4 separate regions of the Homo sapiens genome follow, and all the other regions are linked to region 1. The links are contacts of gene promoters, found by promoter capture Hi-C in blood cells and fetal thymus (Javierre and others, 2016). All regions are on one chromosome and are shown on one strand. The core of a region is centred on a gene start or on the middle of the fragment in contact, and the rest is flanking DNA. Distances in the headings are between cores, read along the strand shown. Region 1 holds the start of SSX2IP (SSX family member 2 interacting protein). Region 2 overlaps PRKACB (protein kinase cAMP-activated catalytic subunit beta). Region 3 has its middle 16 kb from the start of SAMD13. Region 4 has its middle 30 kb from the start of DNASE2B.

Evidence for each region. Contacts are between HindIII fragments. The CHiCAGO score rates a contact against its expected background, and 5 or more counts as called.
Region 2: a contact is called between a fragment that was not itself captured here and the fragment with the promoter of SSX2IP in region 1, in 1 of 17 cell types (total CD4 T cells). The highest score is 5.9, in total CD4 T cells.
Region 3: a contact is called between a fragment that was not itself captured here and the fragment with the promoter of SSX2IP in region 1, in 2 of 17 cell types (erythroblasts and fetal thymus). The highest score is 5.9, in erythroblasts.
Region 4: a fragment that was not itself captured here is called in contact with the fragment with the promoter of SSX2IP in region 1 in 1 of 17 cell types (monocytes); the score reaches 5.6 in monocytes.

Annotation. Positions count from the first base shown.
Region 1 is chr1:84,687,982-84,692,715 of GRCh38, forward strand. It overlaps SSX2IP (SSX family member 2 interacting protein), which reads right to left and starts at 2,480. Exons shown (of 14, transcript NM_001166293.2): 1 at 2,390-2,480. RefSeq lists a silencer at 1,932-2,691. The HindIII fragment of the contact is 1,864 bases long and covers 1,089-2,952 here.
Region 2 is chr1:84,202,962-84,207,695 of GRCh38, forward strand. The region is part of intron 8 of PRKACB (protein kinase cAMP-activated catalytic subunit beta); the gene reads left to right. Among named protein-coding and RNA genes, the nearest start is that of PRKACB, 61 kb to the left of the region's middle. The HindIII fragment of the contact is 2,581 bases long and covers 972-3,552 here.
Region 3 is chr1:84,283,580-84,288,313 of GRCh38, forward strand. No RefSeq gene overlaps it. Among named protein-coding and RNA genes, the nearest start is that of SAMD13, 16 kb to the right of the region's middle. RefSeq lists a silencer at 3,954-4,154. The HindIII fragment of the contact is 854 bases long and covers 2,408-3,261 here.
Region 4 is chr1:84,426,282-84,431,015 of GRCh38, forward strand. No RefSeq gene overlaps it. Among named protein-coding and RNA genes, the nearest start is that of DNASE2B, 30 kb to the left of the region's middle. The HindIII fragment of the contact is 3,256 bases long and covers 587-3,842 here.

The sequences.
Region 1 (4,734 bases), core at 1,230-3,729:
TTTTTTTGCTTCCTGCCTCACTATGCTGATAATTTCTAAAATACAAATTCCTCAAGGCAACACTCATCTTTTTATCCTCAGGTCAGGCAAGTAGCAGCTTACTAAGCGTTTAATGAATGTTTATTGAAAGAATTACTAAAGAATAATTCAGTAAATCTGCTGGTACTACATAAAACATTGGCCCACAATCAAAAGGCACAATTCTAGGATGTTTTTCATTACTACTAATGAATGGTGCATTTCTCTATTCTATCTCATCCCATAAACTCGTGAATTCAAGATAACTTGTACCTTCACTACTAGCTAACCATATCACCATTACCAAAGCCACAAAACAAACCCACATCGTATCAAAACCTCTTTGCGTCATGAGCAAATGGTGAAACCAGTAAGGCATATTCACAGCTATTGTAAAAGATATGGAAAAAATAACTTAAAAATCTTTGAAATCGATCCAATTTAAGCATGTTAAATGAATTAAAATCACACAATTTGGGGGCGGTGTCTTTTCATGCACCTAATTTCTCTAGGGGTATACTACATAAAAGGCACTCAAACGCCTACTTTATAAAACCGGTGTCACGGCCTGCTTTGGCCAAAAAGCAGACTGTCAAGTACTAGGAGATCCCAAGTATACAATTGGACACTGTGCTGGACTTGAGGTCTTTAGCAAACAATTTCAGCGTAACATTTTAGTTTTCTCATATATCTGCCTCATTATGTTTAGAACATAATGTGCTTTAACAAGTCTTGTCACAAGGCACAATGTGTTATGAGATCTCCACATTTCATCCTAGAATAACTAAGTCTTCACAGTTATCTTCAAGCTGCCTCACCCATGTTACGTAATCCATGAGCTTTTTATCTTCCCTGTACAGTTGGGGAAAGAGAAGGGAAGGAAGAGTACAAAATGACTTGGCCTAAGAGGTTCAGCCAGTCACTAAAAGAGCCTTCGTTTTAATTATCAGTTCCTAACCCTCTTCTCAAAGAACCGTTTTGTTTGAGAAACCTTCATTAACAGCAGGCAGAACAGAGTGTTAAATTAGCTATTAGCTTTCCTTACTTGTTTAGTGTGAATGAATAACCTAAGCTTCCTAAGCCTGTAGGTTGATAGTTTTAGGATAAGAGATCTGATGGATCAAGTTTTGCCGACTGGATCCAAATTCATAAATCTACCTCTAACTTCTAAATTTCAAAATAGCTTGACGTGAACTTTAAAGGCATTTCTTTCCTCTCCAAATTTCTAATTCTTTACAAATTTTATTCACTCTCCTAAATGAGTCAACTCATACCAACCTTTCTAGTTCAGGATCAAACTGTAGGATCACCAGAATTTTCTTCTACCCCACAGTAAGCCAAACCCCCATGAACCATGAAAAGGTCCATGACATCCATCACCCACAGCTAACTCTACACCTTGACTCTAATCTGAATTGTTAGAAAGCCCAGGAAGTTCAAGAAGCCTCCACCCTTACACTTCTAAATCACCTTCTTTTCTAATCCTCAACCTATTACAGCGTCCAGAAAAGAGAAATCTCAATTCTCTCAGATTCAAGAACTTTATCAGCGTTGCTAGTAATCGCAGTTTGGCATTTACAACTATGGGTCCTGAAACTGGGTAATAATCTAAAAATTCCTACATTATACGTGCAGACAGCAAATTAGTATATTCTATGTCCTGGGCCCAAGCGATATGCCTAACTGGGCAATCAGCATAGGCTCAAAAAATGTGCAGGGAGCTCACAATTCAGTTTACTGTCGTTGACTATAAAATTCTAAACCAAAGTATTTTCATGATAAAATTATAAACCAAAGTATTTTCACACATGCCTGCCTCTTGGATGATGTAAATTCTTCCCCTAGACTTTTTACTAGACCACTATCGGGGTTCTCTTCCACTGCAGCGGCCACCCAATAACTCGTTTTAAAGACTGCCTCTTGCGGCTGCACTAGCAAATCGCCAAACCCCGCATGCCCCACGGCCGCTGCTGAGACTCTGCAGCCCCAAATCGGCCATCCCCTCCTCCCCCACGTCCCCGCGCTGCTCGTCCCCCAACGCCGGGCGCCAACCTTGCTCCATCCCAGAGAGGGTTTGGGGCTCCCCGGGTCAGAGCGCTCCGCAGGCGCAGCTCCGCGAACGCCAGCGAGAGCGGTCCCGGGGCCAGCACCTACCTCCCACCTCCTCCTCCAGGAGCGGCCCGGGTCGACGCTCGCCCGCACCCTGCAACGGCCCCAACAGCCGCGCGGAGCCTCCCGCCGAACAACGGGGCGCTGAGCCAGGTGCCGGCTCTCACCTCCGCGCGCGCCCGCCCCTTGCCGGCGCCCACCCCCGCCCGCCCCTCCCTGGCGGGGCGCGTCACAATCCCCGACGCGAGGCGCTGCTGCTCACCGTCACGGCCCCCGGGAGCGGCGGGGAGTCACCGCTCGGCGTCCTAGCCCGGCTCCCGCAGCCCGAGGGCCAGCAGCGCCTCGCAGCGCCTCCCGCCCGCGGCCCCTCCTCCGCTGCGGGCTCCCGCCTTCCCCGCCCCTTGCAGCCGCCTCCCGGCCTCCGCAGGTTTCCGAGGTTCCCACCCCGCCCCCGCGCGCCGGCGCCGCAGGCCCCGCCGCCTCCCATTGGCTCCGCCAGTTGCTAGGCGATGAACAACCGTGGCCTGCATTGGTCGGGTGGGGGCCTCGGTAGTCTCCTCCTTACCTCCAAAAAAACCCGGAGAAAAAGAAGACCTTATCCCTGCGGTCCGCGCGCGCTGCGGGCGCAGCTGCGGCTGCGGCACCTGTTACGCCCAGTGATTCACCCGGCCGTTTTCTGCTCCCCGCCCCCTTCTGACGCCTGCAGCGTCCGGGGCCGGGGCTCTGTGGGGGCCGGGACTCTGCAGGGACCGGGGTCGTGGCTACTTTAGAGCACGTTTTCCGAGCCCCACTGAACCCCAACACCCAGCCTAGCAGCAAAAGTGAAGCTTCCAGGAGAGCCACGTGCGTTTGCCAAAGTGGAGAAATAAACTGCGGGCACCTAGAATTAGGTCAGGTCCAAGGAACGGGAGGTTCAAGCGTCGGGAGTCGTGGATGCAAACAATCCAGCCGGGAGAAAGTTATATGTAAAATTAGGGCGAAGAAATGGATCTGGGCAGAAGACCGCGGGCAAAGGAAAGACTAAGAAATAGCATTCGTGAACTCAGTTTATGCAAAAATGTCTTACACCCACTCGACAAAGTATGTGCGATGAAAATGTATGCCTGCTGCACCCGTGGCCAGGGTCAGGCTGTCTCCTCCCTGGTTTCATGGCAGCCTAAAATTCACTGGGGAAGAAAAGAAAAGAGGCCAGAGAAAGGAGATCAGATGGAGAAATCACAGGCATATAGGTTACACAAAGATGTTCTTTGATTTTTGTTTTGTTTAGTTTTGGTGAAGCCAAGGGATTTATTCAAAAGGCGAAAAACAGGTTTGGTGTTTTAAGGAGACTCCTGAGAGCACTTTGAAACCAAAACAGTATGAGTGAAGATGCTAACACTGAAAAACAAGAGCGGGAGGAATGTCCACCTCCCAGTTTGCATGCACGTATCCCCAATCCTGGATGAAAGATCAGGGCCAGAAGAAGCACGCCACGGTGACAACTTCAGGGCCCAACGAAATCCTCCTCTTTTCCTTTGGCCAAGCAATCAGAGGCCCGTCTAGCTGCTGTTGAGCCCAGGTGGCGTTACCATTAACAGTTACATTTTTAAAAGGTTTGAACCAAGCTTAGTTGAGCTCTGGGAAGTTTAGCTCTGACCTCAGCAACCCCGGGAAAGGAATAAGATCTGCCTGAATAAACCAGCGGTCTCAATCTTTTGGTCTCAAGACCGCTTTCCACTTGTAAAATTATTGAGAGCCCCAAGAACTTTTCTTTATGTTGGTTACAGCTATTAATATTAAAACAGAAATTTAAAAATTGCTATTTTTTAAAATAATAATGAATAAAAATAAAAATGTCAAATAGCGCATTTTAATTAAAAATAACTATTTTCAAAAAATTAGTTAAAAGAATGGTGTTACTTTAAAATTTTGCCCATATCTTTAATGTCTTGCTTAATAGAAGGCATTTGGATTTTCATATCTGTTTGTGCATTCGATCTGTTGTGCTATTTCAGGTAGCGTCTGGAAAACTCTACTGTGCACTCATAATGAGAGGGAAAAAGGCAAATAATATCTTAGTATTATAACAAAAATAGTTTTGACTTTGCAGACTCCCTGGAAGGGTCTTGGAAACTTGCCGCCCCAAGGTTCAGCAGATCTTTGAAAACCACTGGTCTAAACCTCTTTGTACTCTGTCCCTCTTTGTTAACCAATAACTGGTTAAGGGGCTAAAAATATGACCTAATTCTGCTCAGTCCATAATGGGGAGTGGGGGATGAGGAGCTTCAGGGGAAGGATTTTATCCTGACAGACTAAGGACAAGTTTTTTCCTTCTTGCCTTGGACATCCTCCAGTAAGCCAGACATGTTTGGAGCTGTGGCAGCATATTCTGCAACCACGAGAGAAAAGCAAGAAAAATACATGCGTACCTCGTTTTATACTTCAATTTATTGCACTTTACAGGCACTGTATTTTTTTTTAATAAAGGTTTGTTGCTCAACCCTGCATTGAGCAAGTCTAGTGGCACCATTTTTTCTAAGAGCATGTGTTCACTTGGTGTCTCTGTCACATTTCGGTAATTTTTGAAATATTTCAGACTTTTCCATTAAATATGTTACGGTGATCTGT
Region 2 (4,734 bases), core at 1,012-3,511, 490 kb before region 1:
TTCAGTCTCTTAAGAAAAAAAGGGCAGTTTTATAAAGAAATTAACAAAACAGTAAAGCAATTTCTGTATTTAGTATTTTTATCACAAAGAACAGGATCATAGCCATAATTCTCGATATTCCTTCAAATAAATAAAAATAGTTTATTATTTCATGTGTCTATCTTCATGGAGAAAAGTTTTAGGGGCTGTTTTATATGCCCTTCCATTTTCAGGAGAGACTTCTTGTTTTAATTATGTCCAATACTATAACATTGGAAGTAAAAGTAAATATAAAATGAATAAGCCTTTTTCAGATGGAAATTTATAGAATTGATTTTAACAGAATTGTTCATATAGATTGTGATTATACTTGTCATTGGTTTTTAGCAAACATGGAAATAACATTAATTTTTCTTCAACATGAGTAGACTTACTGTGTTGTAGTATTTTACATTTTGTAAATTTCTTCATAAACCTTCCTTCTTTTGCACTTATAACCTCTAATTTGCTTTCAAGAGTGTTTTGTTTAGGGTCAGTCATTTGCTGTTGCCTTAGCTCAGACCTCGGATCTTTTTTTAAAAGACCATTGTCAATTCAATAGAAATGAGCTTGAATTTCCTACCATGCAGCAATGAAAGAATAGGCTTTTAAACATTCCCAGAAGGAGACCTTCTATACATTAATGACAAAATATATGGGAAGGGATATTTTGCTTATTTTCCCTTCTTTCTATTTCTACATGTGGTACTGCTTTGTCTTTTCTTTTCTTTCCCACATAGTCCCATTTAGAATATGATCAGGAAATAGAGCATCAATCTTTATCACATTAGCCTGAGATGTTATAGAGTTGAGGTTTTTTTGTTTTATTTTTTATTTGTTTGCTTTGTATTTTGTGACCTTCTTAGGCAGAGATAAGCCGGAAGGAGATAGTAGAGGGAAGGTCTTTATTTCTTTGTATCTCAGCCATATTCAAGCTCTACATTTAGTGTGAAAGCTTACCCTTGGCATCTATCAACTTACAATTTCCATTGTTAACTATTCACAAGGTACCCTGAATGTCTCTAATGTGGTAATTTATTTTTTTTGCCAACACTCAAATTTAAATCATAGATGCTGCACAGCTGGGCTGTAGCAACAAGACATTTGCCAATAGAATTAGTCTATCCAATCACCTAGAACATACATTTCAGCACAGTATTGTTCCCTATCTCATAGTACATATGCACTCTACCTGGGTCATGAGATTTTCCCTTGTATTTTGCCACGTTTTATGTAGAAAGTTTTATTTATTATCAGTATTCACAAATTAGGAGACTGACTAAAGAATTTATACTCCAACTATGTCAAAGGTAAAAAAATAAATACCTCTTACAGATAAATAAACCTAGCTAGGTGTTGAATGCTGTGCACTGATAAAGGCAATACAGAAAAGCAGAATGCAGTACTTATTTAAACAAGTATCAGTATCACTGCTGTTCTTCTTACATTTGTAGATCTCTGGCTTCAGACTTCTTATCTTTGTAATTGTTTTCTCCCAGCAGAACTTTTGATATGAACAAAACAAAACTTTGAGAAAAATTAACAGACAAGGCAGTGATTTATTTTTGAAGAATTTGAGAAGTGTAGACTCTCAAGAGGACTAAAGGTCATATGAAGAATGATGAGAGAACCAAAATACATTAAAATCACAAATGGAAGAAGAATATTTTACTAATACAAAAACTAAGAATGTAAATGTTATAATAATTGTTTCAAATCATTTAATTGACAGTAATTATAAAGTTCTTGAATCTTTACTATATTACTTTTATTTATATTCATATAAGAAATCCAATTTTCTAACAAGGATACTGTCATAACTAAATTTACATTTATTAAGAAAAACTGCTTTAGTTAAAATTAATGTGTCTTCATTTTTATGCATTGGCCTCGATTTGCCAATCATTCTCTATTGGTTAAATTTTATATTCAGCTGTTTATGAATATATATTCATTTTATATCAAACTTTAAAATTTTGTATCTAATAATCAGCATATATTCTAAAATCATAACAGTCTAAATCCTGGGCACCTTAGAAGAATGACACCAGAAAACCTTATTATATCACAATATTCTGTTTTCCCCTTCATTTATTTAGAAATATGACAGGATATTTGGTGTACTTTTGTTTTTTAACTAAAAGTACCAGATTATCTCTCCCCATGTGGGATATAAAATTATCCCCATCTCTTACTCCCTTTACTCATCTAAAGTAGAAGTCATGAAAGTGGAATTTTTGCCATTAAAAGGCTCTGTATTATGTGAAGTTAGATTGTATTAACCATTTCCCAATAAATCATCTGTTTCAAAACTCAAATTCAAACTAGAATGTGTCTCTATTCACATTGCAAAAATATTATTGTCTCTCTGGTTAGTGGCTAAAAGCCAAATTGGAAACTAACTAGTTTTTTAAATTTTTTAAATTGTGCAAATTATTAAAAATCCAATTTGGTCTTATATTTGTGGATCCTTATATTTATATTTGCATTTGAACTTTTAATGGTTTTAATGATATATCATTTAAGAATATGCTTTTCATTCAGAATTGTTTTTGTTGATTTTAGAAGCATATTATTTTATGAAACAGCATCTTATATTGATTATATCCACCATTCTGAAGTCACGTTATAAAGATTATAGGTATCAATGACTTATCAAAGTTAAATTTATTAATTAAGTGATAAATTCACTAAAGTACATATATATGAATATTAGATTGTAAAATACTTTCTCTATTACAATATTTTAACTCAAGCTGGTATTTTTAAATGCACACAAAGATGATCAATCAACTTGTTAGATTCTCTCCTACACATATTTTGCCTTTAAAAAAACAGAGGAGGTGGTATTTAAATGTCACATTATTCATGCAATGTTAAGGTTTGAGTCTACAAATTCATAGTTGAAAGAAAAGATTTATGATTCCTGCATTAACTATGCCTCATCCTAACAATACATATGCTGAGTTTCTGTATGTAGTCTTTAAATTTCATGTCTCAGTGTCATGTACTCCATGACAAGAATCAGTTATGGTCTCTATAGCACCTTTGTCTGGCTGCGTTACCCATGGAAATATAGAAAGTTTATATTGCAGTCAAAAATTATACTTGCAAATAAGGTACTCAAGTAACAGCTACTATGGAAACCATAACTTTAGAGCCCTTGGCTTATGTAATTTAAAAAAATTCTTAGCTTCAACATATCTAATGTAAATATTGTTCCACTCCTAATGAGTAACAATATATAAGGAGACATGCAACATAGAGAAGTATAAACATAAGTATATACTGAATGATCAAAGAGTTGGTTAATTTTTCCTGAAGGGAAATTCAATATTTACATGAAGGGTAATTGATTATCAGCCCAATTGCTATTCCTTTCTGTCTCAGGAGTCCCCAAGACTGTCTCCAGGTTTGATGATTCACCAGGAGGACTCAACAAGATTCAGCATACAGTGGTACTTGAGGCTAAGATTTATTACAACAAAAGGGTACAAAGTGAAGATAGCAAAAGTCCAGAAGACACCAGGCACAAGCTTTCAAGAGTCCTCTCCCAGGGCATTCACAAGGGATGCACATAATTCCTTCAGCAACAAGCTGTGACAAGCGTGAAATTTTATCTACCAGCAACACTCATTAAATACTCAATGCCCAAAGTTTTCATTGGGGGTTGGTCACATATGCACCCTCTGCCTAGCACATGCCAAAATCCCAGCCTCCCAGAACAAAAGTAGTTGTTCAGAATAAACTATGTTGTTTGTACCAACAGTGTAGGCACAGTGAGCCACTCTAATCCTTTAGGGAAAGTTTCATGTTGGTATAAGGGCACTGGTACTATTCAAGTTGCCAGACATCTCTCAAGGGCCAAACTTGTAAGCAGTTCTTTCTAAGGGTAGCAGTCTCAGGCCTACTATGTTAAGTCTTTTCTACACACATTCGGTTTCCTAAATAACATACACATATGCAGATATTCCACTATACTTTTTCTAAGATACTATTGTTAATGCTTTTGGGGAAATTACAATGTCATTTACTATTTTGCTATGGCCATAGTTAAAGAGACTTAGAAGTATTCAGAAATCATTTTCATAAAACACAAAAGCAGTTTTACTCTTTTCATAAAACCCAGGGCCAGTTTTAAACACTTCACTGTGGCTATTTAAAATTCTTATTAATACCTTCTTTCTGACAGCTCTTGTGGTCCTATGAGCAAATAATTGCAAAACTGGCTTCTTATGTGAGAGCAGGGGGAGGGAGAATGGGGTGGATCATAATCCTCTGCAACCTTGTAGACTCATTATATCTACCACTGTTTCTGCATAGGTAAGGGAACAGATTAGAGAGCCCACAGATGCAGTACCAATATTTATAAATATTTTTAATGTCTTAGCTCTTTCTTTTCACATATAGAATCCAGGCTGATTAAAGATGCCCAGGTCTTATGAGGTAGTGTGGAACTCGGCACCATATCTATAACATGCCTAGCGTATGAAAAGTTATTATGCCTGTTGAAAAATTGTCTAATGTGTATGTTCATTTTTGATCAATCAATTCTTTACTGGGATTGCAGATATTTTGAGAACTTACTGTACCTAATTTATAAATAATTTGTTAAAATTTATCTCAACATGCTCGTAGCCAGTAGTTAGTAGATTATTGCTTCTTGGCTGTATATAAACCCTTTTGAGTCATGTAAGCCTAATAATTTTATCCTGA
Region 3 (4,734 bases), core at 1,585-4,084, 400 kb before region 1:
TTTCATCAATTCTAAGAATGTCTCATTCATTGTCTCTTCAGTTATTGCCTCATCCTCTCCTCTGTTATTGCCTCTTAAAAAACTTTGGTTACAGACATTGAAGCGTTTCACTCTATCCTCCAAGTCCCTCAGCCTCTCTGTCATATTTTCCAGCTTCTGTCTCCTTGTGCTGCATTCTGTGTAAGGTCTTCCAGTCTATAATTGCCACTCTCTAATTCTCTCTTCGGCTGTGGTCTTGTCTACTGTTAATTCTTCCACTGAGTTTTTAATTCCAATCTGTTTATTTTTTATTTATAAGTTCTATTTTGTTCTTTTTCAGATATGATAGACATTTTTATGGTCTTTTTCTTCTTCCTTGCATTTATATTTCTATTATATATTTTACTTTTAAATTTATCCTTGCATTTAAAAGATTTATATATTTTATTACTCATGTTAAGTTCTTCAGAGTAGGAGAAGTCCCCTCTCTATATTTTTACTTGTATTTTTATTATTTCAGATTGTTTATACCTTGGGATATAAGGAACATATCCCTCGGTCCTTCCCTGTCCCTAGATGCCTGATTCCTTTAGGATACCCACTATTTTAAGTAAACCAATATCACCTTATATTTGCTGTTTAATATATCTTTCCCTTGTCAGTGAGCTTGTCTTCAACTGGTCATCCTTCTACAAAAAACTTCATTATTTTAATTCAGAAGGTTTATGATTCTTTCTAATGCTCAGAGACCTGCCCCTCTTTCCATATTTCTAGACTGCTGCTGTATTTTGGAGAATGTCCAAAAGTTTGACCTTTGGATAAAGGGATGAGGCTGTACAAATTTTGCTTCTTAATACCATCTGCCTAGGAATAAAAACCTCTAGATAGGAAGAAATAAAGGAAGGAAGAAAAGAAGACAACTTTTGGAAAAATCTGTAAATCTAAGAGGGCATGGAATACAGGACATATCCTGTATTCCAGTGATGACTTTTCAATGACTAGCGGTGGTTTCCACAGAGAATTCGGTTTCCTTATCCATACTTTGCTATAAATCTTGGCATATCAACTACCTAAAATTATCATGCATTTCTAACCGATTTATAGCTAATAATATATGTCACTCCAATTCTTATAGTAAGTATAGGTATCACCCATTTTGTAAACTTTCTAAACTAAATCATCTCAGTAATGTTCATTTATTACATATGATAAAACAGATCCCACACTGAGGAAGAAGAAAAGAAAGAAGAAGAAGAAGGAGGGGAAGGAGGGGAAGGAGAAGAAGGAGAAGAAGTCAGAAGAAGAAGAAGGAGGAGGAGGAAGAGGAGGAGGAGGAAGAAGAGGAAGAAGAAGAAGAAGAAGAGGAAGAAGAAGCAGCAGCAATAACCCTGGACTTGTTTTAAAGTATACACTTGGCCCTTCCCCACATGTAGTGTGATGACTAACAGCCCAAGTGTGAACCTCAGGTGTCCCAATGTTCTCAAGGATGTCAACCTTAGCAATATTTGCAGGTTTAAAATTTAAAGCATATGGATCTATCCTCAATATCAGCACATAAAACTTACTTTAGTCACTTATCAAACTTTCTACTGTCCAGCACATACCAAATCTTGATTGAGAGAGCTAACATTTATAAAACATTGTTGACTGAAATGCAGTTTATCTGTATTAGTTTCCTAAGGCTGCTGTAATAAAGTACCACAAACTGGGTGGCTTAAAACAACAGAAATTTATTCTCTCCCAGTCTGAAGGCCAGAATTCTGAAATAAAGGGGCTGGCAGGGCAGCACTCCCTCTGAAGCTTCTCGAGGAAGATCTCTCCTTGCCTCTTCCAGCTTCTTGTAGCCCCTGGTCTTCCTTTCCTTGTGGCAGCACAACTTCAATTCCTGCTTCTGTCTTCCCTCTGTGTCTCTCTGTCTTCACATGGCATTCTTTTATTTATCTCTCCTTTTTTACAAGGACACCAGTCTTGCTGGATTAGTGTCCACCCTACTCCAATATGGACTAATTTTAACTAATTACATATGTTATGACTCTATTTCCAAATAAGGTCACGTTCTGAGGTTCTGGGGGTTATATCTTTTTGAGGAAAATGATTCAATCCATTAACACTATCTGTTCTTCCAGAGATATTTTATCTTCCAAATAAGCCTGGATCCTACTGTCTTAGAAATACAGGAATTGACTTTCTCTGGGCTGTGTTTTGATGCCATGTTTTCACCTTTTACCAAGCAGAGCAAGAAGAAATGACTTAATGAATGGAACTATTGAATTCACTAAATAAAATTCACTAAGAATCATGCCTAATTTGATTTTTTTTTAGAAGTAAGTGTTAAATTTTTCCCCCTGAATAACTGTTAGGTTTTCTTTTAGAGTCAATGAGAATCATATATCTAATTACACGTTTCTTCTTGATTTGGTTGTCAGGAAGCTTAAACATCTCACTGTAAGTTAATTTTAATAACTTTGTAGGATGCTACAGCTACATATCTTCATTTTTTTCTTCTCCTCTTGTGTTGGTATTTTCTTTCTGATGTTAGTTTTTTAAATTGCTTTTTATATTATTACAATTCCCTCCCAATGCTTTGTGGAAAAAAGTGGGTAATAAGTAGGAAAAAAAAAAAGTATGAATCTCTTCCTGAGTCTCTTCCTCATTCATAGCAAATTTTCCTCCTGACCCAGCTCATCCATCACTGAGTGACTAACCAAACATTATAAGCCATCAACATTAGTGCTCCAGCTTACATTATAAGTGGATGATTCAAACACTACTCAGGTAAACAGAGGGAAAAGCAGGAAAATCACTCCCTTTATTCTTAAGCAAATCAACTAGATCTCATCGACTTCCTTCAAAGAGTTTAGGTAGTTTTTTTTTTTAATCTAGAAAAAAAAAATCACAGAACCCATGCAACAGTAAAAATAAGAGAAATCTAGAAAAGCAGAGGAATCAAATGAGAAGAAATTAAATAACTGAAAATCACATTAAAAGTACCAAGGAAGAGAATTTAAACGGCAGAAAATTGGACATGAAGAGGAAGCTATTGAAGAAAATAATCACATGGAATTTGGTGGAAAATGACATGGAATGAAGGTGATCAGAAAGAAGATGAAAGTTGTAGACCATGGACAATGGAGAACTAAAACATGAGTGACTTTTATCTTTGAAGATGTGAATGAGCAAATGGAAATGAAAAATTACACAATAGAAGAATGTTATGAACTAAAGTAAGTTTTCAAATTGAATTTTGAAAAGGCTCACCATATTCCAATCAAATTTAATAAAAGCTTTCTTTCTAGAACTTTAAGGACTAAAAGAAATAGAATCCTATAGTCATCTAGGCAGAAGGAAAAAGGTCATCTTCATAAACAAAGGAATCAGGCATATTCTAAGCAATGTTAAATGTTAGAAGAAAATGGAGCAATGGCTAACAAACATAGGAAGAAAAAACATTCCATATCTGTTGCAGGAAGTCAGGGACCCTGAATGAAGGGACCAGCTGAAGCCATGGCAGAAGAACATAAACTGTGAAGATTTCATGGACATTTATTCATTCTCCAAATTAATACTTTTATAATTTCTTATGCCTGTCTTTACTGCAATCGCTGAACATAAATTGTGAAGATTTCTTGGACATTTATCACTTCCCCAGTCAATACTCTTATAATTTCCTAGGCCTGTCTTTATTTTAATCTCTTAATGCTGTCATCTTCGTAAACTGAGGATGTATGTCGCCTCAGGATCCTGTGATGATTGCGTTATCTGCACAAATTGTTTGTAGAGCATGTGTGTTTGAACAATATGAAATCTGGGCATCCAAAAGGACCAGCATGGCTGCGATTTTCAGGGAACAAGGGAGATAACCACTGGGCCTGACTGCCTGCTGGGCCAGACAGAACAGAGTCATATTTCTCTTCTTACAAAAGTGAATAGGAGAAATATGTCTGAATTCTTTCTCTCAGCAAGGAACAGCTCTGAGAAAGAGAATGCATTCCTAGGGGGAGGTCTCTAAAATGGCCACTCTGGGAGTGTCTGTCTTATACAGTTGTAGATAAGGGATGAAATAAGCCCCGGTCTCCTGCAGTGCCCTCAGGCTTATTAGGATTAGGAAATTCCTGCCTAGTAAATTTTAGTCAGACCAGTTGTCTGCTCTCAAAACTTGTCTCCTGATAAGATGTTATCAATGACAATGCGTGCCCAGTGGGACATGAAACTTCATCAGCAATTCTAATTTCTCCCTGGTCCTGTGATCTCACTCTGCCCCCATTTGCCTTGTGATATTTTATTGCCCTTGAAGCATGTGATCTCTGTGACCCATACTCTATTTGTACCCCGCTCCCCTTTTGAAATCCATAATAAAAACTTGCTGGTTTTTTGGCTTGGGGGCATCACGGAACCTGATGACCTGTGATGTAACCCCCGGACACCCAGCTTTAAAATTTCTCTCTTTTGTGCTCTTTCCCTTTATTTCTTAGACCGGCCGACACTTAGGGAAAATAGAAAAGAACCTACATTGAAATATTGGGGGCTGGTTCCCCCGATACTTATCTGGTCTAACCACCTTCATGTGTAATCATGACAGAAATAAATTCTCAAATATGCAAGAATTCAAGAAAAATAGCATTTATGCACCTCTGAAAAATCTGTCAGGAAAAAAAATTAAGACAATAAACAGATAAGTAACCATAAAATAAAATTCATGAATGAGAAAGTCATGATGTACAAAAGGTTAAGCCGTGAGCTTTAAGTCTACTACAC
Region 4 (4,734 bases), core at 965-3,464, 260 kb before region 1:
CACACATGACACCACGTGAATAGGGTTTTAGAATTTTAAATTACAGTCCTGGCACTTTACAGCCTCAGACAATTTTCTTAAATCCTCAAAGCCTTGATTTCCTCATCTGTAAAATGGAGAAAATTAAGAAAAATAATATATATAAGGTTCTTACACAAGATAAACAGGCAGTATTATAATGCATCCCTACCCTCTTAGGGCAATGTTCGCTGAATAAAATTGTGTGTTCTGATCAGGGTTTCTAGGCTGCAACATCTGAAGTGTACATGGTGCTTTAGTACAAATGAAGACTTTGTATCTGGGTATTAGGCAGTCAAGTGTTCAATAAATATTTGGTCATTTGTTTTGGCTTTAATGGAAGTACTTTGTGTATGCAATCGCTAGTCCAGGATCTTCTTCATTACCTTTGTAGATAGGGAAGCCACCAGTTTGCTAGGTCTGCAGTATCCTAATCTAATCCCAAGATCCTATCTCTTCCATTCACCACTGTTTTTATTCATTTCCTGTAATATCAGGAAGTTTCTGGTGGTTTGGCAGGAAAGCTAGCCACAGAAGACAATCTTTTCAATATACCTGGACTGTCTTAAGCTTCCCCTATGTTCGAATTATCACTGTATGGCTGAGAGGTGTTTAAAGCAGAATTGAAGGAGGCTGAGGCGGGCAGATCACGAGGTCAGGAGATCGAGGCCATCCTGGCTAACACAGTGAAACCTCGTCTCTACTAAAAAATACAAAAAATTAGCTGGACGTGGTGGTGGGCACCTGTAGTCCCACCTACTCAGGAGGCTGAGGCAGGAGAACGGCATGAACCCGGAGGCAGAGCTTGCAGTGAGCCGAGACCGCAACACTGCACTCCAGCCTGGGCAACAGAACAAGACTCCATCTCAAAAAAAAAAAAAAAAAAAAAAAAAAACAGAATTGAAGGAGAGGTATAATTTAAATGGTTATCCTAAATAATAGATTGATATCAATGTCATATATCTACAACCTTCTGGAAAGGGGACTGCTTCCTTTTGTTTTCATTTTGGGTGAAAAGATTGCTGATTCATGAGTGGGCTGTGAGCTCTGACTTTAGAGATAGAGCTGGTCTCGGCCACTCTGGATCAGCCAAATGATGAGCGAGAGGTAAGGGGCAAAGGAAGAAAATGGCAATCCCACACTTTGATGTATGAGCCAGGGAGGTAGTTTTTCCTCCCAGAGGTGTTAGACAAAGATTTTAACAATGGGACAATTTGTCTCTGGGGTAGCTGGTCCTAGAGAGCAGGAAAAGGAGCTATAAAAATCCAGCTACTTTTGCCACAGGCAAAATAATTTGTCCCCACCATCAGAAAAACAAAAACAAAACACTGGTCAGATTTCATGACTAATTTACTGTAATATCCAGTAGCTCACGACCATATGCAGATAAGGGTTTAACCAGTCTCCTGATGACTCAGGTCTACACACCTCTGTGAGATGGAGCAGTGTCTGGTGACCAAGGAGAGACTGGTACATGCTGCAAGCCAGTTGTTTCCCTATATCCAAAAAGTCAGACTTGCAGCCAACCTCAGTCCATTCCTCGGCCCAGTAGGAACGGAGGCAGGCCAGTCCAACCATCTTCCCATCAGGGCTCTGCAAAAAGACACCCGAGTGGCTGAACAAGTTGTCCCTGTGTCTGTGTCTGCACTTTAGGAATGGCTGCAGCTGCTCTTTGGTCTTCACTCAGCAGGTTTATACAGAGTGAAGGCAACATATAAGAAGCAGGAAGTCTTAAGCCAAGGCAGGAGGATGGTTTGAGCCCAGGAGTTTAAGATCAGCCTGGGCAACATAGTGAGACCTTGTCTCTACAAAAAAAAAACCAAAAAATTTTAAACCAGCTGGGTATGGTGGTGCATGCCTGTAGTTCCAGTTACTTGGGAGGTTAAGGCAGGACTGGAGTCCAGGTCATTGAGGCTACAGTGAGCCATGATCACGCCATTGTACTCCCATCTTGGGCGACAAAGCACAGTTCTGTCTCAAAAAAAAAAAAAAAAAAAAAAAACAGAAAAAGAAAAAGCAGCAGGATGCCTTGGCAAACAATGACAACAGCAGAGAAGTGACAAATGACAGGGTGGAAAGACAGAAGAACTCTTAACAGCACAGCTGTCTGGAGCCATTTAACATTGGGTGAACGGCCCTGTGGACCTTAGTGGCTCCTGAGGGCATGGCAGTATTACAGAATTGAACAATGATTGATGTTCAAAGTGAGTCATCGAGAAAAGGTCAAATTGTGTTCCGAATATTTCATTTAAGAAGGCAACATACTACGTAAAACATTTTGGAAAAATCACTTTCTAAAATAAAATTTTTAAATTGGCATTTAAGTTTAGGTTATAATATGTTGACAATTAATAGTACCACCACTTAATATATTAGATAGACTACATTATTAAAAATCCCCATCCAGAAAGAATTGATTTTTACTTATATGTTCTTATTGATATATAAGTATATTATACACACATATATACATTCACACATGCACACATGGCCACACAGTGTGTATTTTTTAATCGAATCTCACCACTGGTTATTTTATTAAATAGATCTCATATCTTCCTACTTCTTCCAGGACTTGACACCATTATTTATCTCCTCCCACTTCTTCGGCCACTTGCTCTTTATTAGATCTTTCTCTTTACCACATAAACATGTTCAAGGCTCTCCCACCTTGAAAAGAAAACAAACAAAAAACCTGCCTGGGTTCTATAGCACCACACCCTATCCTAGAACTGACCTATACCTCTCTTTCCCTTCACAATCAAACTTGTAGGAAAAGCTCTCAATCTTGTGGCCACCTCTCCAATGACTCTTGTCTTGCTAATTTCCAGTGCTTTAAAAAAAGAAAAAAAAAGATTTGTTTGTATCCTTTGCCCATTGGCCTGTGTCCCTTTCTTAAGCCAGACTCTCCTCCACATCCCTGAGATTCTGCTTTACCTTATTTTATTTCTTCCTCTGACTTACCTGGGTCTCCTTTCAAGTTTCTCTTTCTCTGTCTGAACTCTAAATGTCAATACTTCTCTAGGTTTTATCTTTGGATCTCTTCTCACTTGAAATATTTTCCCTGGGCAATCTTATCCACTATCATGATGGCACCCATATTATATTTCTGACAAAGTTCTCACTGGGGGTGTGTGTGTCTGCATGCACATGCATGTGGATGTGAAAAACCGTGTAGTAAATACCTCCACCTAGATGACACTGAAAACATACCATATCCATGACTCCTATCTGCTCATCAGAACAGCCCCTCCTTGAGTTTCCCTTTCTGGGAACCATTAATCCAGTAACCCTGCTTTGGAGACATATGGACTTTTTTTTTCATTCATTCATTCATTCATTCATCCAAACAATCACCACCACCGCTTGATTGTGCCTCGTTAACATCTCAAATCTATTCCCTCCAGCTTGCCTCCTATGTGCTGCTTTATCTGTGTTTTGAATCAGGAAATGTCTTTAGTCTCCACCTTCATGCATCAGTTCTCTTTGATTCCTGGACGTTTTGCCTCTGCTTCTTTGCTCCTCTTTGGTATTTGAGACTTGGTTACCCAGCTCTCCCAATCTGCCTCACTACCACTCTTTTGGAACTCTGGAAGATTTACTCTCACTCACAGTCTAGGCCACAAGGCCTGGTCCTGGTGTACAGTCCAAGGACCACTTCTCCTCTATTCTTACCAATGCCCCTCCCTCAATAAGGACAAGAGAAACAGGAAAATTTCTCCCAACTGAGGACAGCCCCCTACAAACCATCACTCAACCATAAATAATTATTAGTCTATATTGGAAGTGTTGGTTCTTTTGTTGGCCTCTGCCTTATGCTCTAAAGCTTTTGTCTATTGGCTTTAATATCCAGATCATCTATGAGTCTGCTTCTATTGCCTGCCTTTTCTCTTTATTACTGGCCACATTTTATTGCCTTGTCCCATATCTACTAGTTTTTTATTATGTGTCAGACATAGGGTATAAAAAAATGTGAAGATTCCAAATGCTATCTTCTACAGAGAGGGTTCTCCCTTTCCTCTGTTAGGCAGAGAGGGTAAGGAGTTGGTCCTTTTGATTACATGAGAAATTGATACAACGAGAAACTGTGTTGAGTGTGAGCTGCATTTTTATTAAGACTTTCTCTACCTCTAATTTGCTCCTATTCTAGAGCATGTTCCTTCTGGGCTTGTGATTGTGAGCCCTGGAGTCTTCATCTCCTCAGCCCTGAAAGACTGCAGGAGATCCAGCTCTGTCCTTCAGAAGTTCCAGCCTAGATCTTTAGCCCTCTGTCCCTCATAGCTTCAATACTTGGCAAATGTCTTAAGAAAAAACTGGAGGTGTATGTAAGGGAAGGTCTCCAGGGGACCTGTTTCCTAAGCATCACAAGACAATGAGAGATAGATTTCACTCTTTTAAAAGTTCTTGCCCTAGTTTCATATCCCTCTGTGCAGTACCAGAATTCAGCAAATATGTTACGGGAAAATCAGTCATGTGTTTGAGTTGCCTTCTTCCTATTTGTCACGTCATCCCTTTATAACTGTCAAGAACTTTACTGGTTTTTCTTTGTCCCAGCAGAGATTCTCTGTGTAGGCAAATCCTTCAACCCACACTCAGGATTGGCATATATCTGGTGAAAAAATATAAGATAGTGTCAGCTCACTTTGGCAAGGATTCTACTCTATCTGGAATTTTGGTTCATCTAATCCACATGCTTCCACAGAAACTTGATGCCTT